Regions from separate parts of the Homo sapiens genome. Here region 1 is linked to region 2. The links are contacts of gene promoters, found by promoter capture Hi-C in blood cells and fetal thymus (Javierre and others, 2016). All regions are on one chromosome and are shown on one strand. Each heading gives the region's core, a stretch centred on a gene start or on the middle of the fragment in contact. The rest is flanking DNA. Distances are from core to core; before and after follow the strand shown. Region 1 overlaps OR1D2 (olfactory receptor family 1 subfamily D member 2). Region 2 holds the start of OR1E2 (olfactory receptor family 1 subfamily E member 2).

What was found. Contacts are between HindIII fragments. The CHiCAGO score rates a contact against its expected background, and 5 or more counts as called.
Region 1: a contact is called between a fragment that was not itself captured here and the fragment with the promoter of OR1E2 in region 2, in 7 of 17 cell types (M2 macrophages, M0 macrophages, M1 macrophages and 4 more). The highest score is 12.6, in M2 macrophages.

What each region holds. Positions count from the first base shown.
Region 1 is chr17:3,086,306-3,093,575 of GRCh38, forward strand. It overlaps OR1D2 (olfactory receptor family 1 subfamily D member 2), which reads right to left. Exons shown (of 2, transcript NM_002548.3): 2 at 2,179-6,741. The coding sequence starts at 6,691. The coding sequence ends at 5,753. Among named protein-coding and RNA genes, the nearest start is that of OR1D2, 14 kb to the right of the region's middle. The HindIII fragment of the contact is 878 bases long and covers 4,167-5,044 here.
Region 2 is chr17:3,430,672-3,438,031 of GRCh38, forward strand. It overlaps OR1E2 (olfactory receptor family 1 subfamily E member 2), which reads right to left and starts at 3,170. Exons shown (of 1, transcript NM_003554.2): 1 at 2,199-3,170. The coding sequence starts at 3,170. The coding sequence ends at 2,199. The HindIII fragment of the contact is 9,794 bases long and covers 535-7,360 here.

The DNA.
Region 1 (7,270 bases), core at 3,356-5,855, 340 kb before region 2:
GTATTCATAGTAGCCTTGAATAATGTTTTGTATTTCTGTGGTATCAGTTGTAATATCTCCCACGTTTTTCTAATTGAGCTTATTTGAATTTTCTCTTATTTTCTTTGTTAATCTTGCCAATGGTCTATCAGTTTTTTTTTACCTTGTCAAAGAACCAGCTTCTTGTTTCATTTATGATTTTTATTTTTATTTTTCAATTTCCTTCAGTTCTCCTCTGATCTTTGTTATTTCTCTTTGTCTGCTGGGTTTGGGTTTGGTTTGTTCTTGTTTCTCTAGTTCCGTGAGGTGTGACCTTAGGTTGTCTATTTGTGCTCTTTTAGAATTCTTAATGTAATAATACTGTGAACTTTTCTCTTAGTACTACTTTTGCTGTATTCCAGAGATTTTGATAGGTTGTGTCCCTATTATCATTCATTTCAAAGAATTTTTAAGTTTTCCTGTTGATTTTGTTGTTGACCCAACAATCATTCAGGAGCAGGTTATTTAATTTCCATGTATTTGGATGGTTTTGTGGGTTCCTTTAGGAGTTGATTTCCAATTTTATTCCAGTGTGGTCTGAGAGAGTACTTGATATAATTTCAATTTTCTTAAATTGATTGAGACTTGTTTTGTGGCCCATGATATGGTCTATCTTTGAGAATGTTTCGTGTGCTGATAAGTAGAATGCATATTCTGCAATTGTTGGGTAGAATGTTCTATAAATATCTGTTAAGTTCATTTGTTCTAGGATATAGTTTAAGTCCATTGTTTCTTTGTTGACTTTCTGTCTTGATGATATGTCTAGTGCTAACAGTGGAGTATGGAATCCCCCACTATTATTGTGCTGTTGTCTATCTCATTTCTTAGGTCTAGTAGTAAATGTTTTATAAATTTGGCAGCTCCAGTGTTAGGTGCATATATATTTAGGATTGTGATGTTTTCCTTTTGTACTAGTCCTGTTATCATTATGTAGTGTCCGTCTTTGTCTTTTTTAACTGTTGTGGGTTTAATGTCTGTTTCGTCTAAGAATAGCTACTCCTGCTTGCTTTGGTGACCATTTGTATGGAATATCTTTTTCTACCTCTTTGCCTTAAGTTTATGTGAGTCCTTATGTGTTAGCTGAGTCTCTTGGGGATGGCAGGTACTAGGTTGGTGAATTCTTATCCATTCTACCATTCTGTATCTTTTAAGTGGAGTGTTTAGGCCATTTACATTCAACATTACTATTGAGATATGAGCTACTATTCTATTTGTCATGCTAATTGATGGCCTGAAGAGCTTGTTTTATTTTTCCATTTTGTTATTGTTTTATAGGTCCTGTGAGATTCATGCCTGAAGGAGGTTCTATTTTGGTGTATGTCAAGGGTTTGATTCAAGATTTAGAGCTCCTTTTACAAGTTCTTGTAGTGCTGGCTTGGTAGTGCCGAATTCTCTCAGCATTTGTTTGTCTGAAAAAGACTATCTCTCCTTCATTTATGAAGCTTAGTTTCATGGGATACAAAATTCTTGGCTGGTAATTGTTTTGTTTAAGGAGGCTAAAGATAGGACCCTAATCCCTTCTAGCTTGTAGGGTTTCTGCTGAGAAATCTGCCATTAACCTGATAGGTTTTTCTTTATACGTTACCTGATGCTTTTGCCTCACAGCTCTTAAGATTCTTCCCTTCATCTTGACTTTGGATAACCTGATGTCTATGTGCCTAGGTGATGATCTTTTTGTGATGAATTTCCCAGTTGTTCTTTCAGCTTCTTGCATTTGGATGTCTAAATGTCTCACAAGGCCAGGGAAGCTTTCCTCAATTATTCCCTCAAATATGTTTTCAAAACTTTCAGATTCCTCTTCTTCCTTGGGAACACCAGTCATTCTTAGGTTTGGCCATTTTACATAATCACAATCTTCTTGGAGGCTTTGTTCATTTTTTAAAATTCTGTTTTCTTTGTCTTTGATGGGTTGGGCTTTTGAAAGCCTTGTCTTTGAACTCTGAAGTTCTTTCTGCTACTTGTTTGTTTCTATTGCTGGGACTTTCCAGTGCATTTTACATCTCTCTAAATATGTCTTTCATTTCCAGAAGTTGTGATTGTTTTTTATTTATGCTATCTATTTCACTGAAGATTTTTGCTTTCATATCCTTCATATCCTGTATCTTTTTTAGCAGGAAGAGCTGCAGACCAAACTCCTCAGACACCAAGTTAAAGAAGGAAGGGGTTTATTTGGCCAGGAGCATCGGCAAGACTCCTGTCTCAAGAGCTGAGCTCCCCCAGTGAGCAATTCCTGTCCCTTTTAAGGGCTCACAACTCTAAGGGGGTCTGCGTGAGAGAGTCATGATCAATTGAGCAAGCAGGGGGTACGTGACTGGGGGCTGCATGCACCAGTAATCAGAACAAAACAGAACAGGACAGGGATTTTTACAATGCTTTTCCATACAATGTCTGTAATCTATAGATAACATAACCAGTTAGGTCAGGGGTCGATCTTTAACTACCAGGCCCAGGGCGTGGTGACAGGCTGTCTGCCTTTAGATTTCATTTCTGCCTTTTAGTTTTTACTTCTTTCTTTGGAGGCAGAAATTGGGCATAAGACAATATGAGGGGTGGTCTCCACCCTTACTTTTTTTTTTTTTAATTTAAGTTGAACTTCACCTTTCTCGGGCACCTCCTTGATTAGCTTAATACTCAACTTTCTGAATTCTTTTTCTGGCAATTCAGAGATTTCTTCTTGGTTTGGATCCATTGCTGGTGAGCTAGTGTGATCTTTCAAGGGTGTTAAAGAACCTTGTTTTGTCATATTACCAGATTTGTTTTTCTGGTTCCTTCTCATTTGGGTAGACTATGTCAGAAGGAAGATCTGGGGCTCAAGGGCTACTTATCAGATTGTTTTTGTCCATGGGATCCCCCCTTGATATGGGGCTCTACCCCATCTCCTGGGGATGGGGCTTCCTGAGAGCCAAACTGCAATGATTGTTATTTCTCTGCTGGTCTAGCCATCCAACAGAGCTTCTGGGCTCTGAGCTGGTACTGGGGGGTGTCTGTGAAGAGTCCTGTGATGTGATCTGTCTTCAGTCCCTCAGGCATGGATACCAGTGCCTGGTCCAGTGGAGGTAGCAGTGGAGTAAAGTGAACTCTCATGGTCCAAGTGTTTATCTAGGAGTCTATGGTCCTTGGTTGAAGTTTTGTTTAGTGTACTAGTTGGCCTCCAGCCAAGAGGTGGTCCTTTCAAGAGTGCACCAGCTGTGGTAGCATAGGGGGGATACAAACTTGCCCTAAGGTGGCCTGGATAAGTATTCCAGTTTCTCAGGTGGTGAGTGGGACCATAGAGCTCCCAAGAGATTATGCCCTTTGTCTTCGGCTACCAGGGTGCGTAGAGAAAGACCATTAGGTTGGGGCAGGGTTAGGCATGTGTGAGCTCCGACTCTCCTTCGGTGGGGCTTGCTGTGGCCACTGTGAGGGATGGGGGTGTGGTTAACAGGCCAATGAAGTTATGTTCCCATGGGGATTATGGCTGCCTCTGCTGTGTCATACAGGTTGCCAGGGAAGTGGTGGAAAGCCAGCAGTGATAGGCCTCACCCAGCTCCCATGCTGTCCAAGTGGCCATGTCACTCCCAATGTGCCCTACCCCTAACAGTGCTGAGTTTATTTCCGGGTAGCTGGTGAGCAGGGCTGAAAACTTGTTCCAGGCTGCAAGTCTCCCTGTTGAGAAAGCAAGCAGCACTTTCAGGTTTCTGTTTTCCTGCCTGTGGTGGCTGCTGTGAATAGCCATTTTTAGAAAAATAAGTTTTCTGCCTCCTTTTCTTTCACTTTTCCTTCTGATACTTATGTAATGTGTGTATTTGTTTGATGGGTCCCATATGTCCCATAGGCTTTCTTCACTCTTTTTCCATTTGTTTCTCTTACTAGTACTTTCAAATGACCTGTTTTTGAGTAGTGAATTCTTTCTTCTGTTTCTTCATATCTGCTGCTGAAGCTCTTTTGAGTTTTTTAAAGTTTAGTCATTGTATTATTTAGCTCCAGAATTACTGTTTCTTTTTTGTGGTTTCTGTTTGTTGAAATTTACATTTTATTTATGTATTGATTTCCTGATTTTGTTTAGTAGTTTACCTGTGTTTTTGTGTGGGTCACCATGTTTCTTCAAATGATCACTTGAATTCTTTGTCAGGCAGTTCATATTTCTCCATTTCTTTGATGGTTTCTGAAGCTTTATTTTGTTCCTTTGGCTTTGCTAAGTTTCCTTGATTCCTTGTGTTTCCTGTAGCTTCACATTTGTGTTTGCACATTTGAAGAAGCAGTCATCTCTTTTAGTCTTTACAGGCTGGTTTTGATAGGGAAAGTCCAATTTGATAGGAACTGTTTTTCACCAGTCAGCTTAGCCAGATATTCTGGGCTGGCCAGTTGGCAGGGTCTATGGGCAGGCAGGCCTAGTGCTTGGGGATGTGGGTGGATGGGCCAGCTTCTGGGCACCATGCACAGGCCCACTGTAGGGTGCAAGGCCCCAGTTGTTAAAATACACATACTGACTATTAAGAGCTCCCAACCATTTTCTTATTTTTTTTTTTTCTTGTTCTTAGCTACTCAGAGGGGTCTGGCCATGTGAATTGCCTCAGTATTCTTGGTGAGGCATGACAGAAGTGGTCCTCTTGGTTAGCATCCTGAAAGTCAGGGGAAGTTGTACATATGTTTTATTTTCTTTTTTACTTATGGAAGAACTCATGAGATGAGGGGATCTCTCTTTGTGCTACTCTGTGCTGGCTTGGGTGAGGGGTGATTCAGGTAATGTGACAGAGTTTTTTCTACAATGTTCAATATGGTGTTTTTTCTACTTCTGTGTACTACCAGGGTGCTATAAACTTTCACTTGGATTCTGGAGCTCTCACAAAGGTATTTTCATCTGTGGATGGTTGATAAATTAGTCTGTATGTTGGTGGATGAGAGATACAACTGTCGATTCCACCATCTTGTTGACATCACTCCTTTCACCCGTTTTGAAATATCTTTTACCTGATGTCATTGCAGCAATATTTCACTTAAAATATTTAGTATTTTCCAAATATGTCTGTTTCTCTTTTTAATTTCAAGCTTTATATATTCCTGTGCTTTCATCGTGTCTCTTTAAATACATCTATCTATATTTTATTTTTTAATCAGTATGTTGAACATTACTTTTTAATTGATGAGTTAGGTCCATTTATGTTTAATGTAAATTTATGTACTTCCCCGAGTAGACTGTGACCTCACATTTGTAACCCAGTTTGAGGCCTCTGTACACTGTCATTATGAATAGAATGAGTTGATGAATGACTGCATGAATGTCAAATGAATTGAACACCACCTGTCGAGGTCTATATCACGTGCTGGATCAGCTGATACAAATATGTATGATTGCAATCTCTTTCAAACCTCCACAGCCATGTGACTAACTTTCTTATCAGCTACTATTTACTTTCTGTACTTTGGATGTGTGCTAGATGAGAGACACTTCTAGGTTTAAACTGGATATAGTCAGATAAGGCCAAGAATGTGGCCCTGTAGTCAAGTACATTGAAGAATTTGACCCTGCAACATTCTAGTGTTGGTGTTAGTGTGACCTTATTTACGGCCAAGGCTGATGAGACCTGGGGGACACCAGGTTACAAATATGTCTTTTTTATCACCACATATCTATATGCTGTCTCTGAGCTGGAGCCATGTCCCAATCACTGCTGTATAACACACAGGACAATCCCTTACATAGGGTGAAGGATATTCCTAGTCTCCACTTTAATGCTGTCTTTCCAAATTGCCCTCATGTCAGCCTCTTAAAGTGTTTATCTAGGAGTCTTCCCAGAGCCCCATGCATGTCCTTGTTCCTCAGGCTGTAGATGAAGGGATTCATCATGGGTGTCACCACAGCATACATCACTGTGGCTACTGAGTCCTTCACAGAGTAGGTATGGAGGGGCTTTAGGTATACCATACAAAGTGTCCCATAGAAGAGGGAGACTGCACCCAAATGGGAGGCACAGGTGGAGAAGGCTTTGTATTTCTTAGAGACTGAGGGTATTCTGAGGATGGCTCTGATAATCAGCACATAGGAAATGATCACGAATCCAAAGGGAATGAGGAAGATGAAGCAGCCTGTGGCAATCAGCACTGTGTGATTAATCTGAATGTTGGAACATGCCATCCTCAGCAATACATACATCTCACAGAAGATGTAGTGGATTTTTCGTGACCCACAGAAGGTCACTCTGGTCATGAGGAGGGTGTGTATGAGGCCATAGAGGACGGATAGGACCCAACACAAGGAAAGGAGTAAGATACAGAGCTTAGGGCTCATGGCTGTGGTGTAGTGGAGGGGGCAGCAGATGGCCACATAGCGGTCATATGCCATCACAGCCAGGATGAGGTTGTCCAGGGCCACCAAGGAGACCAGGAAGTAGAGCTGTGTCAGACACCCTGCATAGGAGATGGCTTTGTTATGGGACTGGAGGTTCACCAGCATCTTGGGGATTGTGTTGGTGACAAAGAAGAGGTCAGTGAAGGAGAGGTTGGCCAGGAAGAAGTACACGGGGGTGTGCAGGCGGGAATCAGAGCTGATGGCCAGGATGATGAGCACATTTCCCACCACCGTGACCAGGTACATGGACAGGAACATCCAAAACAGGATCCGCTGCTGCTCAGGACTCTCTGACATCCCCAGGAGAAGGAACTCTGAACCTTCACTCTGGTTGCCTCCATCCATTTCCCCAACTCTCTTTTAACATTAACACCAGCAAATGTTTACCAAAAGTCCTTAATTGAATAAAAACATGAAGATAAGCAAAATCAACATTTTCTTAGAATTAAGAATGTCTTACACCCAATTTTATAATTTTTGAAAATAAGAAAGTGAAAAATATAACAAAGTTTTTATGCGATATAATTATTTCAGCTACTTCAAAGCTGGGAAACTCAATGTTAAAGGAATAATGTGTAATTCTTATTTTCAATCCTGTCATCTTACACTATTCTTGAAGTGTTTGGTGATTAGTGTGTTATGATATGTATATGTGTTAAAATAATTAATATAGATACATGCAGTATAAGTAGTTCAAAAAAGGAAGAAAATAAAAGTATTTGAAAGGAGTAGGAACAATTATTATTTGTTGATATGATGATCTATCTGAAAAAAGTGGGACTATCCACTGAAAGACTACTAGAAATAGAGTTTAGAATACTTGAAATCAAGTCTTTCCCTGCTAGTAAGATAGTACGCACTGCCACTTACTTGCTGTGAAACCTCAGGTAGGGTTCCAGAGTTCCTTAAGACTCAGTTTCTTCA
Region 2 (7,360 bases), core at 1,920-4,419:
GTGAAAAAATGCCCAATATCACTAATTATCAGGGAAATTCAAATCAAAACCAAAATGAGACCTCATCTCACCCCAATTAATGTGAGTATTATCAAGAAAACTAAAAATAACAAATGCTGGCAAAGATATGGAGAAGGATAATTCTTATATATTGTTGTTGGTGGGAATGTAAATTAGTACAGCTATTATGGAACATGGTATGGAAGTTCTCATAAAAGCTAAAAATAGAACTACCAATTGATCTAGCAATCCCATTACTAGGTGTGTATGCAAAAGAAAGAAAATAGGTATGTCCAAGAGACATTTTCACTCCTAGCACTATTTATGTTAGCCAAGATATGGAATCAACCTAAGTGGCCAATCAACAGATGAATAATGAAAATATGGTGTATATATACACAATGGAATACTACTCAGTCAGTAAAAAGTATAAAATCTTGTCATTCATGGCAACATGGATGAGCCTGAAGGATATTTTGATAAATAAGTCAGGCACAGAAAAATAAATACCACATATTCTCATTCGTGTGTGGAAGCTTAAAAAGTTGGCAGTATAGAAGTATAGAGTAGAATATTGGCTGCTAGAGGCTGAGAAGGGGAAGAAGTGGGGTTATAGAGGTTAGTTAATAGATAAAAAATTATAGGATAGGAGGAATAAGTTCTAGTGTTCTATAGCGCTGTAGGATGACTCTGGTAAACAATTTATTGCATTTTTCAAATAACTAGAAGAGAGAATTTTGAATGTTCTCAATACTAAGAAATGATAAATTTTGAGGTGATAGAAATGCTGATTTTCCTGATTTGATCATTGTACATTGTATATATGTATCAAAATATCACACTGTACCCAATAAATATGTACATTATGTGTCAATTTTTAAAACAATTTCAAAATAACTAATATAAATGAATGAGTGAACAAATGAGTGAGGTTCTTAAGCAGACTTTGGTTCCCTTCCCCATGCTTGAGAAGTCCTTTTAGGGCCTTAGGTATGACTTAGTTCTTAGATATAGATAAACTAAAGTATGGTATGTAAGCAAATAGAAAGTTCATTTTAGGTTTGGGTCAGGTAAAAAGACATGCAGACATAAAAATTAAGAAAAGTTCAACCATTGTGGAAGTCAGTGTGGCGATTCCTCAGGGATCTAGAACTAGAAATACCACTTGACCCAGCCATCCCATTACTGGGTATATACCCAAAGGACTATAAATCATGCTGCTGTAAAGACACATGCACATGTATGTTTATTGCAGCACTATTCATGATAGCAAAGACTTGGAACCAACCCAAATGTCCAACAATGATTGACTGGATTAAGAAAATGTGGCACATATACACCATGGAATACTTTGCAGCTGTAAAAAATGATGAGTTCATGTCCCTTGTAGGGACATGGATGAAACTGGAAATCATCATTCTCAGTAAACTATCGCAAGGACAAAAAACCAAACACCGCATATTCTCACTCATAGGTGGGAATTGAACAATGAGAACACATGGACACAGGAAGGGGAACATCACACTCTGGGGACTGTTGTGGGGTGGGGGGAGGGGGGAGGGATAGCTTTAGGAGATATACCTAATGCTAAATGACGAGTTAATGGGTGCAGCACACCAGCATGGCACATGTATACATATGTAACTAACCTGCACATTGTGCACATGTACCCTAAAACTTAAAGTATAATAATAATAAAATTTAAAAAAGAAAGAAAACAAAGTTAGGAGACAGGCTGATGTGAACACTTGCTCAGGAAAATGAGTAAAAAAAATTTATTCAAAATTTGTAGTTTTGTTTAGCAAAGAAGGGGACTGAGATGTCTGGGTCTTATTATTGACATGAGAGGACAGAATATCATTTAAAGCAGACCTACAGGGTTTTTTCAAGTACACATGATAAACTGGTGGTTTAACAATGAAGACGGAAATTTTAATTTAAATATTTTAAATCTTTAATTTAAAGATTTTCTTCACCTGGGATTAGCAAAAAGGAAAATCTTCCTAGCAGGTTACTGAGAACACCTTACTTCAACTACATATCCCCCCCACATCTGTTTTACTTACTCAGAAATTATGTAATATTACATTTAAACAAAAAGTTTCATGTGCAGAAAAAAAGAGATCTGAAATAATATTGAAATATTAATGTCCATGTATCTATTAGATAAAATTATATAAGACTCCCAAGTATTACTGTCATAGAAGGAAGGGATTTTTCCTTTTACAAATGACCCTTTCCAGGGCTCCCTTCATGTCTCTGTTCCTCAGGCTGTAGATGAAGGGGGTCAGCATAGGGGTCACCACAGTGTACATCATAGCCATGACAGTGTCCTTTAGAGTAGAACTATTAGCTGATGGGCATAAGTAGAGACCAATAACGGTCCCATAGAACAGTGACACCACAGAGAGGTGGGAGCCACAAGTAGAGAAGGCCTTGCAGATACCCTTAGAAGAAGGGACCTTGAGGATGGAGGAGACAATTCTTGCATAGGACCCAAGGATGAGTAGGAATGGGATGACAAGAATGAGCCCTCCCATGATAAATATCACCCATTCATTAACTCGAGTGTCAGAGCAGGCCAGCTTCAGCAGAGCAGACATATCACAGAAAAAGTGGGGGATCACATTGTCTGCACAAAAACACAACCTGGCCATGAGTAAAGTGTGTAACATGGCATGGAAGGTGGTCAGCACCCAGGACAGCGCCACCACGGAGAGACAGAGCATGGGGCTCATGATGGCGGTGTAGTGCAGGAGGAAGCAGATGGCGGTGTAGTGCATGGGGAAGCAGATGGCCACATAGCGGTCATAGGCCATGGCCACAAGGAGGAAGCTCTCTAGATCCGAAAAATACAAGAAGAAGTACATTTGGGTCAGGCAGTCTGCATAGGGGATGGATGGGTCTTGGTTCTGCATGTTCTGCAGCAATTTGGGCATTGTGACTGAGGAAAAGCAGAGGTCAGAGAAGGACAAGTTGCTGAGAAACAAATACACAGGCGTGTGGAGATGGGAGTCCAGTCGAATGAGGACAATGATGAGGAGGTTCCCCAGGAGGGTGGTAAGATACATGGCCAAGAACAGGGCATAGCACAGGTTTTGCTGCTCTGGTTGGATGGGCAGGCCCAGGAGCAGGAAGTCTGAGATGCTGGTTTGATTTTGTCCCATCATGCTCTGTCTCCAGTATCTTTAAGAGAATATAATAGGGTCCCTCAAAACCGTGAATAAAAATAAATATATTCCTATGATACATGGTCAACAGGTGTTCAATCACTGATTTCACCCTCATTTTCCCTAACAACAATCTCTATATTCAGAGATTTCTATAATTATTTCTATAATCAGAAATGTGCCACATCACAAAATCCACGCTACTTTTCACACTGATCCATCTCACTTTGCATAACATGTAGCAAGATTGACTCCTCCTTTCTTTCTAAAACACTCTTATCTATTAGCTTCCGTGCAATCACACTGGTTTCCTGACACATATTGGCCATTCCTTCTTAACAACTGTAAATGGTTTCTTCTCTAACAGTATCTTATACGTTGCTGTTTTCTGGGAATTTTTCCTAAATTCTGTTCTAATTCTACAGATCAAGCCCTGAAAGAGTTCACCTGTCCCCGTGACACTGATTACCATCTGAACTTCCTGGGTAAACCTATCATCATTAGTACTGCATTAGCAGTTGCTTCCTGATTATCTCCCTATGGATCATGACCATCCTCAGCTTAACAGATCCCAGATGAAACTCGTTATCTCACCCTGCCACTCTTCCAATTTGCTCCTCCAGTCTCTCATATCTCAGTAAAAGGAATCCAGGCTCAAGTCAGAAACCTGGGAGTTTTCTTTCATTTATTTATTTCTCTCAAGATCAACATCTAATCCTAGCAAGTTATATAGATTCTGTACTTCATTCTATTTCTAATTCACCCACTGCTTATCCCAGTTGCCACAATCTGGAACAGGCTGACATCTTTTCTTGTCTGGACTATTGGAATAGTCTCTTACTTCATCTCCCTGCTGCTATGCTCACTAGCCTTCAATCCATTCACACTGTGGCGTTCTTTTTTTTTTTTTTTTTTTTTTTTTGAGATGGAGTCTCGCTCTGTCACCCAGGCTGGAGTGCAGTGGCGCAATCTCAGCTCACTGCAAGCTCCTCCTGCTGGGTTCACGCCATTCTCCTGCCTCAGCCTCCCGAGTAGCTGGGACTACAGGCACCCGCCATCGCGCCCGGCTAATTTTTTGTATTTTTAGTAGAGACGGGGTTTCACCGTGTTAGCCAGGATGTTCTTGATCTCCTGACGTCGTGATCTGCCCGCCTCAGCCTCCCAAAGTGCTGGGATTACAGGCCTGAGCCACCGTGCCCGGCCACACACTGTGGCATTCTAAGATAAAAATCTGATCATCATTCTCCTGCTCAGAGTCCTTATGGATTCTCATTATTCTTAACATATACACAAAATTCCTTTCAAGGACACAAATCATATTTCATTATCTGACCCATGCCTACCTCCACAGCCTCATCTGGTCCCACAATGACTCTTGCATCAGCATTCTCCAGCATTCTCCAGCAATGCTAGACTTAGAAGTCATAATTTCTTGCCTCCAGACGTTCACACTTGCTGTTCCTTCTGTGTAACATCTTACCTCTGCTTTTTTTTTTTTTTTTTTTTTTTTTTTTTTTTTTTTTTGAGACAGTCTCGCTCAGCCATCCAGGCTGGAGTGCAGTGGCACGATCTTGGCTCACTGCAAGCTCTGTCTCCCAGCTTCACGCCATTCTCCTGCCTCAGCCTCCCGAGTAGCTGGGACTCCAGGCACCCGCCACTACACCAGGCTAATTTTTTTGTATTTTTAGTAGAGATGGGGTTTCACCATGTTAGCCAGGATGGTCTCGATCTCCTAACCTCATGATCCGCCTGCCTCAGCCTCCCAAAGTGCTGGGATTACAGGCGTAAGCCACCACGCCCGGCCCCTCTGCCTTCTCTTACTTGGCATACCCCTGCTTCTCCTGCAGGTTTACTACATGTCACTGGCTCAGCTCAATCACTCAGACCAGGTGAGACCTGCTTCTAAGTTTCCACAGCATCTTGTACTCATCCAGCAGCATTCAATGACCTTGATTGCTTGTTTATAGCTGAGTTTCCTACCAAATTGTAAACTCCATACAGATAAGGCCATGACTGCCTTCGTGACTGCACCAAGGCCAGCAACTGGGATGGTGCCTGGATATGGCCAATGTTTCATTAGTATTTGTTGGCTGTCCTTCAGGCTGAGACATACACTCCTCCAACTTTATTTTTTATTTATTTTGAGACAGAGTTTCACTCTTGTTGCTCAGCATGGAGTGCAATGGCACGATCTCAGCTCACCGCAACCTCCGCCTCCCAGGTTCAAGCAATTCTCCTGCCTCAGCCTCATGAGTAGCTGGGCTCACAGGCAAATGCCACCACACCCAGCTAATTTTTGTATTTTTAGTAGAGACGGGGTTTCTCTATGTTGGTCAGGCTGGTCTTGGACTCCTGACCTCAGGTGATCCACCCGCCTCGGCCTCCCAAAGTGCTGGGGTTACAGGCGTTAGCCGCCGCGCCCGGCCCCTCCAACTTTAAAGCAGCCAACACCCATTGTAGTTTAACGACTCCTATTAAATCCTCCCAGAATAAGAATTCACTAGCCTTAACCATTTAGTGCTAGTTTTGACACTTTATTACAAAATTCTGAGATAAACTTCAGACCTATGGAAAATGTTAGACCATCCAACCACCCTACTCTTTATTTTAAAAAGACAGCCCATTATGCATGTTGACACTGTCATTTTGGTTTTGGTGTTGATGTCTACATGGTTCAGTTATGTTGACATGAAGAATTGTATCTGAAAGTTTCTATAATTTGGGGAGAAAGGGAACGAGGATATCCACCCTTGAGACCTCGCTGTACTTCCTCTCCAGATATCCATACCTCAAAATGCCTCTGAGCTAAGAAAGCTGAAGGGTGTTAGGGTACATGAGAAGTTCCTTCCCTAGAGGGATGTAGCTGAGTCTGTCGGGATCTTCACCCTGCTAGTGATGTTTAGTCTAGCCACGTTAACAGTTTTTCACATTTGAATATAATCTGCTAGTATTGTAGTAGGGAAATGGCATCAAGTGAAGTTTCACATGCCTGTTCTCTCAGAAGTTTGCCTACCTGGGAAATGAGTGGGACCAATCTCTGGTGTCAAGGGTCTTATTAGAAATTCCAAACCAGAGAGACATCACTTGTGAATGCTGCCACTGATCGGGAATATAAATTTCAGCTGCTCCCTCAATAATGCCTCTCATCTTCTTCACCTGGTAAATCTACAGTTCTCAGTCTGGACTGAATATAAGAATCACAAAGGTCACTGCTTCTAAAACTTTAATTTACATACAAACCACCTGGTGGTCTTGTTAAATGCTGATTTTGATTCAATAGGTCTGGTGTAGGGCCTAATATTCTACATTCCGAAAGTTAAAATTTCACATTTGGTGATGCCAATTCTGCTGTTCTGTGGACCACACTGAGTAGTAAGGACATATAATACATTTTAAAAATACAGATTACGGCACCATCCCCCAATAAATGTAATTAGAATCTCTGGAGGGGGCCTTAAGTAAGCTCCTTAAGTAATTCAAATATATGGCCGAGGGCTTGAAATCTCTGTATTAAATGCCTATCTCATAGAGATGTCATTATGTTGAAATGATACAATCATGAGAGAGGACATTGCATAGTATTAATGGACACTGTCATTAATAAAAAGATATTAAGTTGTGAACATTAAATCAAAATATTTCTGGAATGTAGAAAAGTCTTGAAAAGCAGAGAGGTGGAGAAAAGGAAAGTTATATCTGAAAAACTATCCTATAGAACATCATACAACTGGGGAAATCAAGACCCTCAGGTTGTAGGGATGCTAAGCTACCAGCTTATTCACCCTCCTGCCCAACTTACTCTGTGTCTGAGGTTAACTCCAGGGCCCTGATCCAAAATCCTCCTCCCCTTTATTGGTTGCAACAGCCTTTGTAGTCATCACCTGTGTCTGTACTCACCCTTCTGACATCTCTCTTTCTACCTATCCCTGGCCCTACCGGACTATGCATCCCGGAGAAGCCTAGATCCTGGAGGAACTCATTAAAAACAAAGTAATTACACAGGACGTCTCTAGAACAAATTATCTTAGAGTCCTGCAACAGTGACTGATTACAGCTGTTGATCACACCTTACTATACTTTGGGGGATCGGGGGATCATGAGAATGGAGAGAAGCTCAGGGATGGGTGTTTAATCATTGCCTGCTTAGGGAATGGAGAGCATGCCTGTGAGGTTGGGGCCTACATCTTGAG